Linked DNA regions of Homo sapiens: region 2 is linked to region 1. Evidence: promoter capture Hi-C in human tissues and cell types (Jung and others, 2019). All regions are on one chromosome and are shown on one strand. The core of a region is centred on a gene start or on the middle of the fragment in contact, and the rest is flanking DNA. Distances in the headings are between cores, read along the strand shown.

Region 1 (6,748 bases), core at 1,957-4,456:
CTGCATGAATCATGATGGTGGGTTATCTTTGTTTTCTATACAGGTGTACTTGCCAAGTTCGGTCACTTCTTTCTACAGACACTGCCCCCTAGAACCCACTTCTTTCAAAATGTGAACTAGTGAAGGGCACCACCTACCATCTAGAGCTCTATCCAAGAGGGATGACATAGCACAGCCATTCAAGTCACAGGTTCTGGAATTAGACAGTCCTTCCCTAGCAATGTGACTATGTGAAAAATTATTGACTTATTTCCCCCCCCTTTTTTTCTTGAGATGGAGTCACTCTGTTGCCCAGGCTGGAGAGCAGTGGCGTGACCTCGTCTCACTGCAGTCTCCGCCTCTCGGGTTCAAGCGATTCTCCTGCCTCAGCCTCCCGTGTAGCTGGAATTACAGTCACCTGCCACCATGCCCAGCTAATTTTTGTATTTTTAGTAAAGACAGGGTTTCACCATGTTGGCCAGGCTGGTCTTGAACTCCTGACGTCAGGTGATATGCCTGCCTCGGCCTCCCAAAGTGCTAGGATTACAGGTGTGAGCCACCGCGCCCAGCCATTACTTTGGTTTTTCTAACATGAAAAATAAAGTAATAACCGTACTGGTCTCATAACGTTATTATGTGATTAAATGAGATAACGCATGTAATATGTTTAGAACATATCTGGCATATAGTTCTAGCACAAAAAATATTCGCTATTGAACAAGAACAGAAAAAAAGCAGGACCTTGTGCCAGCAAAGTATATGACTTCCCCTATTCCTGTATTCTTCAAGAGGTCTTGCACTGAATCAAGCAGATCCTTTAAAAAAGCAAGACATCAGGCTCAATAAACAGATTCACCTAGTGACAATAATATAGGCTTTGGAACCAGGCAGCCATGAGTCAAACTTTAGTGAAGCCATTTATAAACTTGATCTTTCTGAATCTCAGATTATATATTTGTAAAAATGAGGTTAATACTACCCACCTCTCAGGATTGTGAAGATTAAGATAGATTTCTAGTTGCAGACACTTAGCACATTTTACATAAATAAATGTTGACTAAGTGTTCTTGGAATTGAAATTGTGGTAAGATTTTACTCCTGGTGTCATTTTACCCCTGTGGGATTCTGCTCCTTCTCTGACCTCAACTTAGCTGTGAATTCTATTGTCCCCGCTGCTAGACTTTACTAACATTAACCACGTTGATTTTCATGCCTGGAGAGAAGAGGGATCATGCAGAACGGAACAGAGTACAGGAAGAGAAGGCTGCAACAACCACCACAACACCCTGGAGGGCACAGGGAGAGAGAAAAACTTCTGCCAGGCATTGCTGAGATAGAACACAGGTAGCACTCATCAACCTTGGTTCTGTTCACCCAAGCATCAAGTCCAGAAGACACTCCTTGCTACTGTTTCTCCTCTTTCTCGGTGCCTCAGTCCTGTCATGTAAGGAAATCAGACATAGGAGAAAAAAACAAAAAAAAAAAAAGAAGAAGAAGAAGACGAAAAGAAAAACCTCCCACATAGAAGTATGTTAAAAATCTATCTCTCTGGATGCTCGGTTCCTTTCTCGTTCTCATTAACTGATAGAAGGCCACTGACACCAACATTGGCCTAAGCTAAAATTGGTTTTCTTTTTCAGAGATTGTAGGTTGATTCTAGGTTGCAGAAAAGGCAAAATATTTTGCTAGAGGCATGGAATACAGATTAGGTTGGTGATGTCACAAAAGAGGTTTTCAACAGTGTCAGCAGAGGCTATAGTGATGAGTAAGGAAGTTGATAAACGGCAACATCTGAAATAGCTACTCGCCCTGAATAGGCAGGTGGAGAATATTAGTTACACGTGGGACAAATCCCATTATGAGACATATCATCACAACAAGAATATTTCATTCTAGATTTTAGAATCCCAGGTTTTGGCTCACTTTGGTCAAGAAAAATTATAAATAATTGAGTTACAGATAATTAAATGTTAGCCTCCTGGAGTGCATGGCAATTGGTTTTGACCTCTATATTAAAATTCACAAGACCACGGACATAAGTCAAAACAGGTCCCCTTCGTCTCCCTAGTCACCATCTCCAGGGCTAAAAAACAGACTTGAAATGGGTGGCAGTTAGACTACAGGAAACAGGATCTACAAGCACCAGGAGCTCATCTATGGCTATCTGACATCGCCTGGGGACACCTCACTCTCTGGCAGGCTCCTGCTGGCTGGAGATTGTTAACATCGCCAATCAGATGTTAATTGAATGCAAAGGAATAGGAAATAAATTCTGGTTCTGAAGGGGCAGCTGGAAAGGTGTTGGGCTTCTCAGATTCCAACCTACATTACAAAGCAGGCCTAAAGCCAAGCATACTCCTTGCCAGAAGAAACGGAAAGCCCCTCTCCCGTTTTTAGAATCAGGCTGGAAAACACGGCTCCCAGAAGGTGGGGTTAGAAAACAAGAGCTTGCGAGGCGGCGCCCTGTGGTCCCTCGAGGAAATAGTAGAGAGACAAAGAGGGCCTGCTCCTGGGAAGCCCTAAATTCGAAGCCAATCCTTCCTCCTAGACATGACCACAACTTTAAAGGGCAGGGCGCACACCTCCCCTCCCGGATCTCTAGGACAAAGGCAGGTCGAGGGTAAATATTTCTAGTTATTCAGTATATTCAGTGGCTAACTATTTATTTTGTGGGTACCAGACACCGACATAATCGGTTACGTCCTTCCCTTAATTCTCATAATTCTGAGGTTTGTGTTATTAACCCCCTATTATCTTTGGTCTACCCAGGGCAGCCAAAGAGGCGCAGAGAAGAATGACAAGGTGCCCAGCAAGCGGCAGGATCAAAGCCTGGGTCTCTAATTCCCAGGCTGGAGATTCTGGGCTGCCTGCTCCTCCTGCACGGGGCGAAAAGCCCACCTGGGATCCGAGCGGGCGGCCGCGCCACTCTCGCAGGCTCCATACACCCGCCACTACCCGCCTGTACCACCTGCAGCCGGCAGCGCAGCCTCCTCGCGGGTCCCGCAGGGCGCGCTGCAGGTGCGCTGGGCGTCCCGAAGCCCCGCCCTCGCGTCCCTGCCCCGCGCCCAGCTCCTCACGCTCGGTGCCCGCGCCCCGCAGCGGCAGCGCAGAACGCACCGCCTCTGCCAGAGCCCGGGAAGCGCTCGGGCGAAGAGGAGGAGCCAAGGGTACCGAGCGGGTGGAGTCGGGAGCCGGAGAGCGGTGGAGGCGGATTTCCTGGGCCCGGCCCTCTGGCGCTACCATGGCGTTTGGCAAGAGTCACCGGGATCCCTACGCGACCTCCGTGGGCCACCTCATAGGTAAGGAGGCGCGGGGAGAGACGCCCAGGCAGGCAGGGGACCGTGGGATCCTTTCCTGCTTGATCCATTCTCGGCCTGCAGAGGACGGAGTTAGTCCAACTTGAAAAAATTATTCCCCTCCCCCCGCAACTTTCCCAAGGCACCCGCATTCCACCCGGCCCCCTTTCGTCGTTTCCTTCTTGGCCAACTCACTGTAGAACCTCAGTCCTCAAAAATGTACCTTCCTTTCGATGCCGCCTGGGGAGTGGAACCAAACAGGTGAACCGCGGGAGTCAGGCATGGAGTGTTTGGGCCTCCACGAGGAGACACCAGAAACTTCTCGGTAGGGGAAGTTATTCCTAAAGGCACATTCTCCAGGGCACGGTATTGTTATGCCCGTTTTACAGATCAGAAGAGGAGGCTCTGGGAGACTAAGTGATGTGGCCTTACTGTGAGGGGCAGGTCTCCCCAAACCAGTTTTCTCTAGTGCCAAGCTTATACAACCTGGATTACTTTTCTGGGTAAACAAAGAGAATGAAAATGCTTGGCATTGGAGTGAAGAGGAGGGGAACATAGGAGCCATCTGGGGCCACGGAGGTCTCTCGCAGGCCACTAGGGACTACACCAGCATCCACCTAAATGATTTCTCTCTCCTCCGGATGTACCTTGCATGATGTATGTAGAAGCCAGTGATTGGACTCCTACCAGCACCAGCTCACTGCTCCTTCTTTTCCCTGATTCCTCCCTTGGGAATTGGGTGTGGCACGAGTGCATATTAATGCCAGGCAAAGTGTGATGATGTCAGGAACTTAGTGGGGTGATGAAATCGTGAGAACCTAGTAGTTGTAGTAAAGAGGCCCAGATTTGGAAAATTTAGATCACAGCTCTACTAACTGCTGTGACACCGAACACACCACTTAAACAGAACCTTAGTTTACACATCCTTATAAGATGGTCAGAGTAGCTACCATTGAGGAGATGCTTTCCCTTAATGGCTGTGCTTTTTTGGATATTAGAATGAACCCCAAGCAGAAATGGATTCAGACTGTGTCTTCATAGGCAAACGAAACTTCAGCAGTTCTTCTGCTTAATTTTTTAATTCTGTAAACATGGACTAACTGTCAGCTATGTGCCTGGACCTGGATCAGGCACTGGTGAGGCCAAGGTGAGACGTGGTCTCAAACCTGAGGGAACTCACTTTCTTGTAGAGAAGACGGGCACAGTTTTGTGTGGCACCTTTGCAATGCAAGAAAATGCAAAACACACAAAACTTAGGAGAAGGGAGAAATGAATTCTGCGTGGCTTTTGAAGGGTGAATAGGAGTTTTCTTTTCTAGGGAGGTAAGCTTTGTCCATTCGGTGCCAGATTCAAGTTTTTTGTTGTTGTTGTTTTGTTTTTGTTTTTGTTTTTGTTTTGAGACGGGGAGTGACACCCAGGCTGGAGTGCAGTAGCTCTCGGCACACTGCAACCTCCGCCTACCGGGTTCAAGCACTTCTCCTTCCTCAGCCTCCCGAGTAGCTGGGACTACAGGCACATGCCACCACGCCAGGCTAATTTTTGTATTTTTAGTAGAGATGGAGTTTCACCATGCTGGCCAGGCTGGTCTCGACCTCCTGACCTCAGGTGATCTACCCACCTCGGCCTCCCAAAGTGATTGGGATTACAGGCGGGAGCCACCGGGCCCCGCCTCAAGTGGTTCTTTTCCTGGATTGAAAGCAAGCTAAACTTTGGGGTTCCCCCAAGCAAGTCCTTATTCTTCCCCTTCTCTATCTTTTTTGTTTTTTTCTCCATTTCCCCCAGAACCCGGTGTTTTCATGCTTAGGGATCTTGTCCTTCTCTTAGGAAGATGTTAGCGCATTCATACTGAGTGTTCCATTACCCTTTCCAGATAACATCTTGTATTCTTAAAGCGGCTGTCTGGAGAGGGAAAGATGCCTGATTATCTAATCATAGGGTTCCAAGTGCAGAAGCATTCTGGTCAGCCTGGTGCAGCTGTGGTTAGTTTAGATGCTTATTATTATTAGTTCGGATAGTTATCCAGCGCCAGTTTGAAATAATTAAGGCTGAAAGTAAAAGTGTATGCAATGGAAGTTTTTACATAGTTGAGGTAAGCAGTGTCTTTGCAAGTATTGGTTGAAGTTATAATAATTGGTAAAATTAGAAGGAATCGTGAGATTAAGATGATAGGACAATAAACGTATTACTTTTATTTGGAGTTGTGCCAATGTTTTGGCTCCTAAGAACAACGGATTACTTCTCTCCTTTAAAAGTTCTTTCCTCCTGTCCCCCCAGAGAATAAATTATTTTTAAAAACAAACAGTGGGACCAAACAACCTAGATTTGAATGCCAATTCTACTTCATACTGACTGTATAACTTTGGTAATTTCCTAACCTCTCTGAACTTCTATCTCATCATCTCTCACAGTGGGTTAAATGAAATTGCGTATGATAAAATACTTAGCACTATGCAGTTCACCTTCTAGGTAGCTGCTCACTAAGCCCTAGTTCCCTTCTCTGAAAGCCAGGCAGGCGGAGATTTAGCTGGCCTGGCCTGGGCCTGTGGCCAGCTGTTGTGCTTGAGGTCTTTATTAATAGGTCACTCATTACTGTTGCTGCAGCAGCACTCTGAACTTGGGTTCTGATTGATTCCTGAATTACTGAGAACTGTTCCAAAAAAAATCACTTTGCCCTTTGGCAATGTAAACTTAATGACACTTGCTGGTGCAGCCTAGGCAGATTATTTCAGGAATACCAGACATTTTTTATTCTGTTGTAGCTCAGACTCAACAGCTTTTTCTTGGCAGAAAAGGCTACATTTGCTGGAGTTCAGACTGAAGATTGGGGCCAGTTCATGCACATCTGTGACATAATTAACACTACCCAGGATGGGTGAGTACAGCATGGTTTCCATGTATTTGCCTCTGACAAGAAGCATCAGAACTACAGCACGTTTTCTCTTGCAAATATTTCGGTTTTGTTGTTGAAAGAGTGTTTTCATCATTCATTAGGCACCCTCTATCTTTTGAAGACTTGTCAGGTTGAAATATTGGGGCAGCTGCTTGCTTCAACATGTGGAGTATCCATAAATCCACTATAATTTTTCTCCTCTTGGCAGTTTCTTTAATAGTTTCAAATTTTGTCACTGTGAAGCTCAAATTCCTTCCTTCTAAAAGATTGAAAAAGGCCGGGCGCAGTGGCTCACGCCTGTAATCCCAGCACTTTGGGAGGCCGAGGCGGGCGGATCATGAGGTCGGGAGATGGAGACCATCCTGGCTAACACGTTGAAACCCCATCTCTACTAAAAAATACAAAAAAAATTAGCCAGGCATGGTGGCGGGTGCCTGTAGTACCAGCTACTTGGGAGGCTGAGGCAGGAGAATGGCGTGAGCCTGGGAGGTGGAGCTTGCAGTGAGCAGAGATCATGCCACTGCACTCCAGCCTGGGTAACAAAGCAAGACTCTATCTCAAAAAAAAAAAAAAAAAAAAAATT
Region 2 (7,499 bases), core at 2,040-4,539, 470 kb before region 1:
GACTGGGTAATTTATAAAGAAAAGAGGTTTAATTGCCTCACAGTTCCACATGGCTGGGGAAACCTCAGGAAACTTACAATAATGGCAGAAGGCACCTCTTCACAGGGTGGCAGGAGAGCAAATGAGTGCCAAACAAAGGGGGAACCCCTTTATAAAACCATCAGATTTCATGAGAACTCAGTGTCATGGAAACACCATGGGGAAACTGCCTCCATCATCCAATCACTTCCCACTGGGTCCCTCCCACAACATGTGGGTATTATGGGAACTACAATTCGAAATGAGATTTGGGTGGGAAAACAGCCAAACCATATCATGTGCCTAGGAATATTTTTGTTTGTATTTATCCTGCTCAGAGCTTTCTAGCTTTTTGAATCTATAAATTTGTGTCTTTGCAAAATTTGGGAATTTGAGGGACATTATTTCTTCACATTTTTCTGTCTTGTTTTTTTTCTATCTTCCTCCTTGGACTCAAATTTCACATATGATACAACAAATGTTATGCCTTTGAGGCTCTGTTCACTTTTTTCAGTATTTTTTCTTTGTCTTCAGATTGAATATTTTCTCCTGTTCATTGATCAAACTTATTGGACTTTTTCTTTGTCATTTCCATTTTGCTGTTAAGCTTATTCACTGAGTTTTTTTTTTTAATTTCAAATATTGTATTTTCCAGTTCTAAAAATTCTATTTTTAATATTTCCATTCCTGAATTTTGTATTTCTATCTTTTTATTCATTCTAAGTATATTTTCCCTTATATTATTGAGCATAATTATAACATCTTCTCTAAAATTTTGTCTAGTAGTTTCAACATCTTGGCCATTTCAAGATCATTATTTTTCTTACTGGTCTTTTCCCCTAAGAGAATGGTTCCCATTTTTGATTTCTTCTTTTGTTAAGTAAGTTTTGTATGGTATCCTGGACATATGCATTTAATATTATAGAGACTCTGGATTCTCTTATATTGCCGCATATAGTGTAGATGTATTTGTTCTAGCAAATTGCTTCGATAAATTTAAACTGCACACTCTTTCTCCTGGGCAGTAGTCCTGATCTCAATTCTGTCCTTTTTGCCTTGCTATGTTACTGAAAGTCTACCACACACAGATGTGATTCAGAGGTCATCGATATCTGGGAAGAGTTTATACACTAATTATTGGACTTTCCCTCTGTGGGTCTCCCCAGGATTCCTAACCTGTTTTTCTACAACTGTGGTTGCCCTGAACTTTCTCCTCTGTTTCTTTGAGCCAACATGACACCAGACTTTCTTGTAGTTTTATCACCCCATGTGCACACACTGTCATTTCTCAGGATGGAAGCAAAGAAAATGGGAAACTCCCCCAGTGCCATTCCCTTCCCAGTATCGATTCCTGTGCCCATCTCCACCCCATAGTCTGTCTGCTTTTTGTCACTCTCCGGTGCCTTTGGGAAGGTTTTGTTATTTATTTTTTATTTTTGGAACAGATTTCATATTTGTTATTTGAGAGAGTGGAGCTTTCTGAGCTATCCACTGGAAGTGGAACCCACATTTATTTTAAATGATCAAATTATGGCAGCTTGAGCCCCCACTGATATATCTGATGAATATTCGTTCACCTCAATATCTCTTTTGGCTATAACAAAAAGTCCTAAAAGTGGTGCCCTAATCATGCTTACGAACCACTGTTGAAACCACTGCCATGTGGTTTTCACTCTACTCCCCCTTTTATATACTCAGTGGCTGTAAAGTCCCTTGGTCAAGCTTTGCCACTGTCACTACCTGCCATGTTGTCCCTAAAAGAGTTCCGAACAGAAAGAGACAGATGGCTTTTATTGCCTTTTTACTTGGAATCCAAAGTAGCTCCATTTGTGCCTAGAGTCACACAAAGAATCTCATTAAATCTGTTTGCCAGATGAGATCAGATACGTGCAGAGTGACACAGCCATAGGGGTTCTAGCATCACCTCTCTGTCCATATCTCCCGTTTATTTCTAAATTATGGTAATAAATATTAATAAAGCTCAGTAACCGAACAATGTGAAGACATGTCTTCACTCTAATGAAAGTAATATTAGCTATAATTTATTGAGTTCTTTACCATGTGCTAGGACCTACTTGATATGGTTAGAGAGTAATACTTAAGAATGTGATCTTTGAAGCTGGATTTTTTGGGTTAATAGTATTACTTTTAATAAGTTGCCAACTCTCTGTGCTTCAGTTTCCCAACTTGGAAAAGAAAAAAAAAACTGACCAACTTTAGAGTGTGTTATAATGATTAAATGAACAATACAGGCCATCCATTTAGAATTGTGCCAAGTACATAGTGAGCACTCAATAAATATTAGCTATTACTGTAATTATGACTGTCACAACAATCCTATGGAATCTATTCTCTTAATTTTTAAATATTTTATAAATGAGAAAACTGAGACAATAAAAGCTTCCACCACTTGCCCAGGTTCACTTAGTTTTGAAGAAACATAACTTGAATTTTGAGTCAGATGTTCTGGCTCCAGGGTCCAGGTATTTAACCAGTCTCCTGTTTTAAACGCAGTCCAAGTAGCTGGTTGCAGGATGAATGCCACACTGTTCTCCCAGTTCTCCCCACTGCACCAAGGTTCACATGTTATTAACTGATACGAACAAACACTGGGAAAAGTGGGAAGAGATTTTATCAGGCTCTTGCTCAGCCAACGAAAATTCTCTTGTAACTCCTATGATTAATTGTACTAAAAAATCCACTATAACTTTTAAAGATTTAAGGTTTGTTCTAAATCTTCAACTTTTTAGTGTTTTTTTTCATTTGTTTTTAATCTCAGAAAATACATCAGTGCTGAATCACACAAATAGGTAGATAAATACTGTCTTGGTAAGTTTGATCTTATGATAATATGTTGTTTTTGTAGTAGCATTGCTCAGGTACTGCACTATTAATATTTGATTAGCATATTTTAGAAATATATCTCTCTGTGGTTATATGTCACACATAAAAACAAGTAAATATTAAATTTACATACAACTTTAGTTAGTAGTAAAAATAGAAATAGATTTTATTCATTTTGCCCTCAGCAGATTTATCACTTTTATTAAAGAATTCAAGCTTTCATGTTATGAATTATTAGAATAATAATAATCTATGATAGAAAAGGACACAGAAGGTTTGTAATTCTTCCTTACATCAAATTTTGCATAGAAATCCTTTCTGTTATATCATAGGTATATCATCATTCATCCGCTATTTTAGATTTATCCATTGTTAGAAAGTGTTGATTTTTAAAACATTCTTTCCATATTGAGCTAAAAGCTCAGTTTTTATAAATGTCACTCATTAGCTTTAGATGCAGCCATAAGAAAACATGAAAATGAACTCTCTCTTTTATGTTACAGCTATTTAAATACTTAAAAATAATTATCCTTTTTATCCAAATATCCTTGGATTAAATAGTCTATATATTATTTCCAGAACTTCCTTAACATATAATAATTGTCTTACATATGAACACATGCTCATCTATTTCTGTTTTAAAAAGTGGTGAGTAGAACTTAACACAGTACAATGTATATGATCAGATGAGTGCAGAATTCACTAGGTCTATCACCTCTCTTGACCCAGAAACTCTACTTGGATTAATGCAGTTTCTGAATGCTTTTTTTCTCTTCTACTGCTGACCTTGCCACTAACAAAATATCATTAAAGTTTTCTTACTGCTTTAAATATTATTTAAATATTACATCAATCTATAAAAACATACTTCTTTCTAATGTAGGAGAGGCTGGCAAGATGGCCAAATAGGAACAGCTCCGGTCTGCAGCTCCCAGTGAGATCAACGCAGAAGGTGGGTGATTTCTGCATTTCCAACTGAGGTACGTGGTTCATCTCACTGGGAATGGTTGGACAGTGGGTGGAGCCCACAAAGGGCAAGCTGAAGCAGGGTGGGGCACCACCTCACCTGGGAAGTGCAAGGGGTTGAGAGATTTCCCTCTCCTAGCCAAGGGAAGCCATGAGAGACTGTACCAGGAGGAACGGTGCACTCTGGCTCAGATAACACACTTTTCCCATGTTCTTCACAACTGGCAGGCCAGGAGAATTCCTCCAGTGCCTATGCCACCAGGGCCCTGGATTTTAAGCACAAAACTAGGCAGCTGTTAGGGCAGACACTGGGCTAGCTGCAGGAGTTTTTTTTTCGTACCCTAGTGGTACCTGGAATGCCAGCGAGACAGAACCGTTCACTTCCCTGGAAAGGGGGCTGAAGTCAGGAAGCCAAGTGGTCTGGCTCAGCAGGTCCCACCCCCACGCAGCCCAGCAAGCTAAGATCCACTGGCTTGAAATTCTCGCTGCCAGCACATCAGTCTGAGGTCAACCCGGGATGCTCGAGCTTGGTGGGGGGAGGGGCATCTGCCATCGCTGAGGTTTGAGTAGGCGGTTTTACCCTCACAGTGTAAACAATGCTGCCTGGAAGTTCGAACTTGATGGAGCCCACTGCAGCTCAGCGAGGCCACTGTGGCCAGACTGCCTCTCTAGATTCCTCCTCTCTGGGCAGGACATATCTGAAAAAATGGCAGCAGCCCCAGTCAGGGACTTATAGATGAAACCCCCATCTTCCTGGGACAGAGCACCTGGGGGAATGGGTGGGTGTGGTTACAGCTTCAGCAGACTTAAACATCCCTGCCTGACAGCTCTGAAGAGAGCAGTGGTTCTCCCAGCACACAGCATTTGTGCTCTGATAAGGGACAGACTGCCTCCTCAAGCGGGCCCCTGACCCCCGTGTCTCCTGACTGGGAGAAACCTCCCAGTAAGGGCTGACAGATACCTCATACAGAAGAACTCTGGCTAGCATTTGGTAGGTGCCCCTCAGGGACGAAGCTTCCAGAGGAAGGAACAGGCAGCAATCTTTGCTGTTCTGTACCCTCCGCTGGTGATACCCAGGCAAACAGGGTCTGAAGTGGACCTCCAGCAAACTCCAGCAGACCTGCAGCAGAGGGGCCTATTGGAAGGAAAATTAACAGACAGAAAGGAATAGTATCAACATCAACAAAAAGGATGTCCAGCTTCCCCATCCGAAGGTCACCAACATCAAAGACCAAAGGTAGATAAATCCATGAACATGGGGAGAAACTGGAGCAAAAAGGCTGAAAATTCCAAATACCAGAATACCTCTTCTCCTCCAAAGGATCACAACTCTGTGCCAGCAAGGAAACAAAACTGGACGGAGAAAGAGTTTGACAAATTGACAGAAGTAGGCTTCAGAACGTGGGTAATAACAAACTCTTCTGAGCTAAAGGAGCATGTTTTAACCTAATGCAAGGAAGCTAAGAACCTTGAAAGAAGGTTAGATGAATTGCTAACTAGAATAACCAGTATAGGAAGAACATAAATGACCTAATGGAGCTGAAAAACACAGCACAATAACTTCATGAAGCATACACAAGTATCAATAGACAAATCAATCAAGTGGAAGAAAGGATATTAGAGACTGAAGATCAACTCAATAAAATAAAGTGAGAAGACAAGATTAGAGAAAAAAGAGTGAAAAGAAACTAATAAAGTCTCCAAGAAATATGGGACTATGTGAAAAGACCAAATCTACGTTTGATTGGTGTACCTGAAAGTGACAGGGAGAATGGAACCAAGTTGAAAAACACTCTTTAGGATATGATCCAGGAGAACTTCCCCAACCTGGCAAGCCAGGCCAACATTCAAATTCAGGAAATACAGAGAACACCACAAAGATATTCCTTGAGAAGAGCAACCCCAAGACTCATAATTGTCAGATTCACCAAGGTTGAAATGAAGGAAAAAATGTTTAAGGGCAGCCAGAGAGAAAGATCGGGTTACTCACAAAGGGAAGCCCATCAGACTAATAGCGGATCTTTCAGCAGAAACCTTGCAAGCCAGAAGAGAGTGGGAGCCAATATTTAACATTCTTAAAGAAAAGAATTTTCAACCCAGAATTTCATATCCAGCCAAACTAAGCTTCATAAGCAATAAAAAAGAAATAAAATCCTTTAAAGATAAGCAAATGCTAAGAGATTTTTGTCACCACCAGGCCTGCCTTACAAGAGCTCCTGAAGGAAGCACTAAACATGGAAAGGAACAACTGGTACCAGCCACTGCAAAAACACGGTAAATTGTAAAGACCAACAATGCTATGAAGAAACTGCATCAACTAACGAGCAAAATAACCAGCTAGCATCATAATGACAGGATCAAATTCACACATAACAATATTATCATGAAATATAAATTGGCTAAATGCCCCAATTAAAAGATGCAGACTGGCAAATTGGATAAAGAATTAAGACCCATCAGTGTGCTGTATTCAGGAGACCCCTCTCATGTGCAAAGACACACATAGGCTCAAAATAAAGGGAAGGAGGAATATTTACCAAGCAAAAGGAAAGCAGTAAAAAGCAGGGGTTGACAACCTAGTCTCTGATAAAACAGACTTTAAACCAACAAAGATCAAAAGAGACAAAGAAGGACATTACATAATGGTAAGGGATCAATGCAACAAAAAGAGCTAACTATGATAAATATATATGCACCCAATACAGGAGCACCCAGATTCATAAAGCAAGTTCTTAGAGACCTAAAAAGAGACTTGGACTCTCACACAATAATAGTGGGAGACTTTAACACCCCACTGTCAATATTAAACAGATCGATGAGACAGAAAATTAACAAGGATATCCAGGACTTGAACTCAGCTCTGGACCAAGTGGACCTAATAAAAATCTACAGAACTCTCCACCCCAAATCAACAGAATATATAGTCTTCTCAGCACCACATCACACTTATTCTAAAATTGACCACATAATTAGAAGTAAAACACTCCTGAGTAAATGCAAAAGAATGGAAATCATAACAGTCTCTCAGACCACAGTGCAATCAAATTAGAACTCAGGATTAAGAAACTCACTAAAAACTGCACAACTACATGGGAACTGAACAACCTGCTCTTGAATGACTATGGGTAAATAATGAAATGAAGGCAGAAATAAAGATGTTCTTTGAAACCAATGAGAACAAAGACATAATATATCAGATTCTCTGGGACACATTTAAATCAGTGTGTAGAGGGAAATTTATAGCACTAAATACCCACAAGAGAAAGCAGGAAAGATCTAAAATTACACCCTAACATCACAATTAAAAGAACTAAAGAAGCAAGAGCAAACAAATTCAAAAGCTAGCAGAAGACAAGAAATAACTAACATCAGAGCAGAACTGAAGGAGATAGAGACATGAAAAACCCTCCAAAAAATCAATGAATCCAGGAGCTGGTTTTTTGAAAAGATCAACAAGATAGATAGACCACTAGCCAGACTAATAAAGAGAAAAAGAAAGAAGAATCAAATAGACACAATAAAAAATGATAAAGGGGATATCACCACTGATTCTACAGAAATACAAACTACCATTGAGAGGTGAGGCCAGCTGGACTTCCCGGCTGGAGTGGGGACTTGGAGAACTTTCCTGCCTTACAAGGGGATTGTAAAATGCACCAATCAACGCTCTG

What was found. The method cuts DNA at HindIII sites, captures the fragments that hold promoters and counts their contacts. A contact is called where the count stands out against the background at its distance.
Region 2: a contact is called between a fragment that was not itself captured here and the fragment with the promoter of TOM1L1 in region 1, in 1 of the 25 tissues and cell types used here (dorsolateral prefrontal cortex).

The regions. Positions count from the first base shown.
Region 1 is chr17:54,897,646-54,904,393 of GRCh38, forward strand. TOM1L1 (target of myb1 like 1 membrane trafficking protein) reads left to right here and starts at 3,207. Exons shown (of 16, transcript NM_005486.3): 1 at 3,207-3,278; 2 at 6,063-6,147. The coding sequence starts at 3,221. LOC124904033 (a long non-coding RNA gene) reads right to left here and starts at 3,092. Exons shown (of 2, transcript XR_007065854.1): 1 at 963-3,092. RefSeq lists a silencer at 2,882-3,221 and enhancers at 3,302-3,411, 3,432-3,521. The HindIII fragment of the contact is 7,312 bases long and covers 1-4,176 here.
Region 2 is chr17:54,431,799-54,439,297 of GRCh38, forward strand. No RefSeq gene overlaps it. Among named protein-coding and RNA genes, the nearest start is that of TOM1L1, 470 kb to the right of the region's middle. The HindIII fragment of the contact is 4,215 bases long and covers 1,183-5,397 here.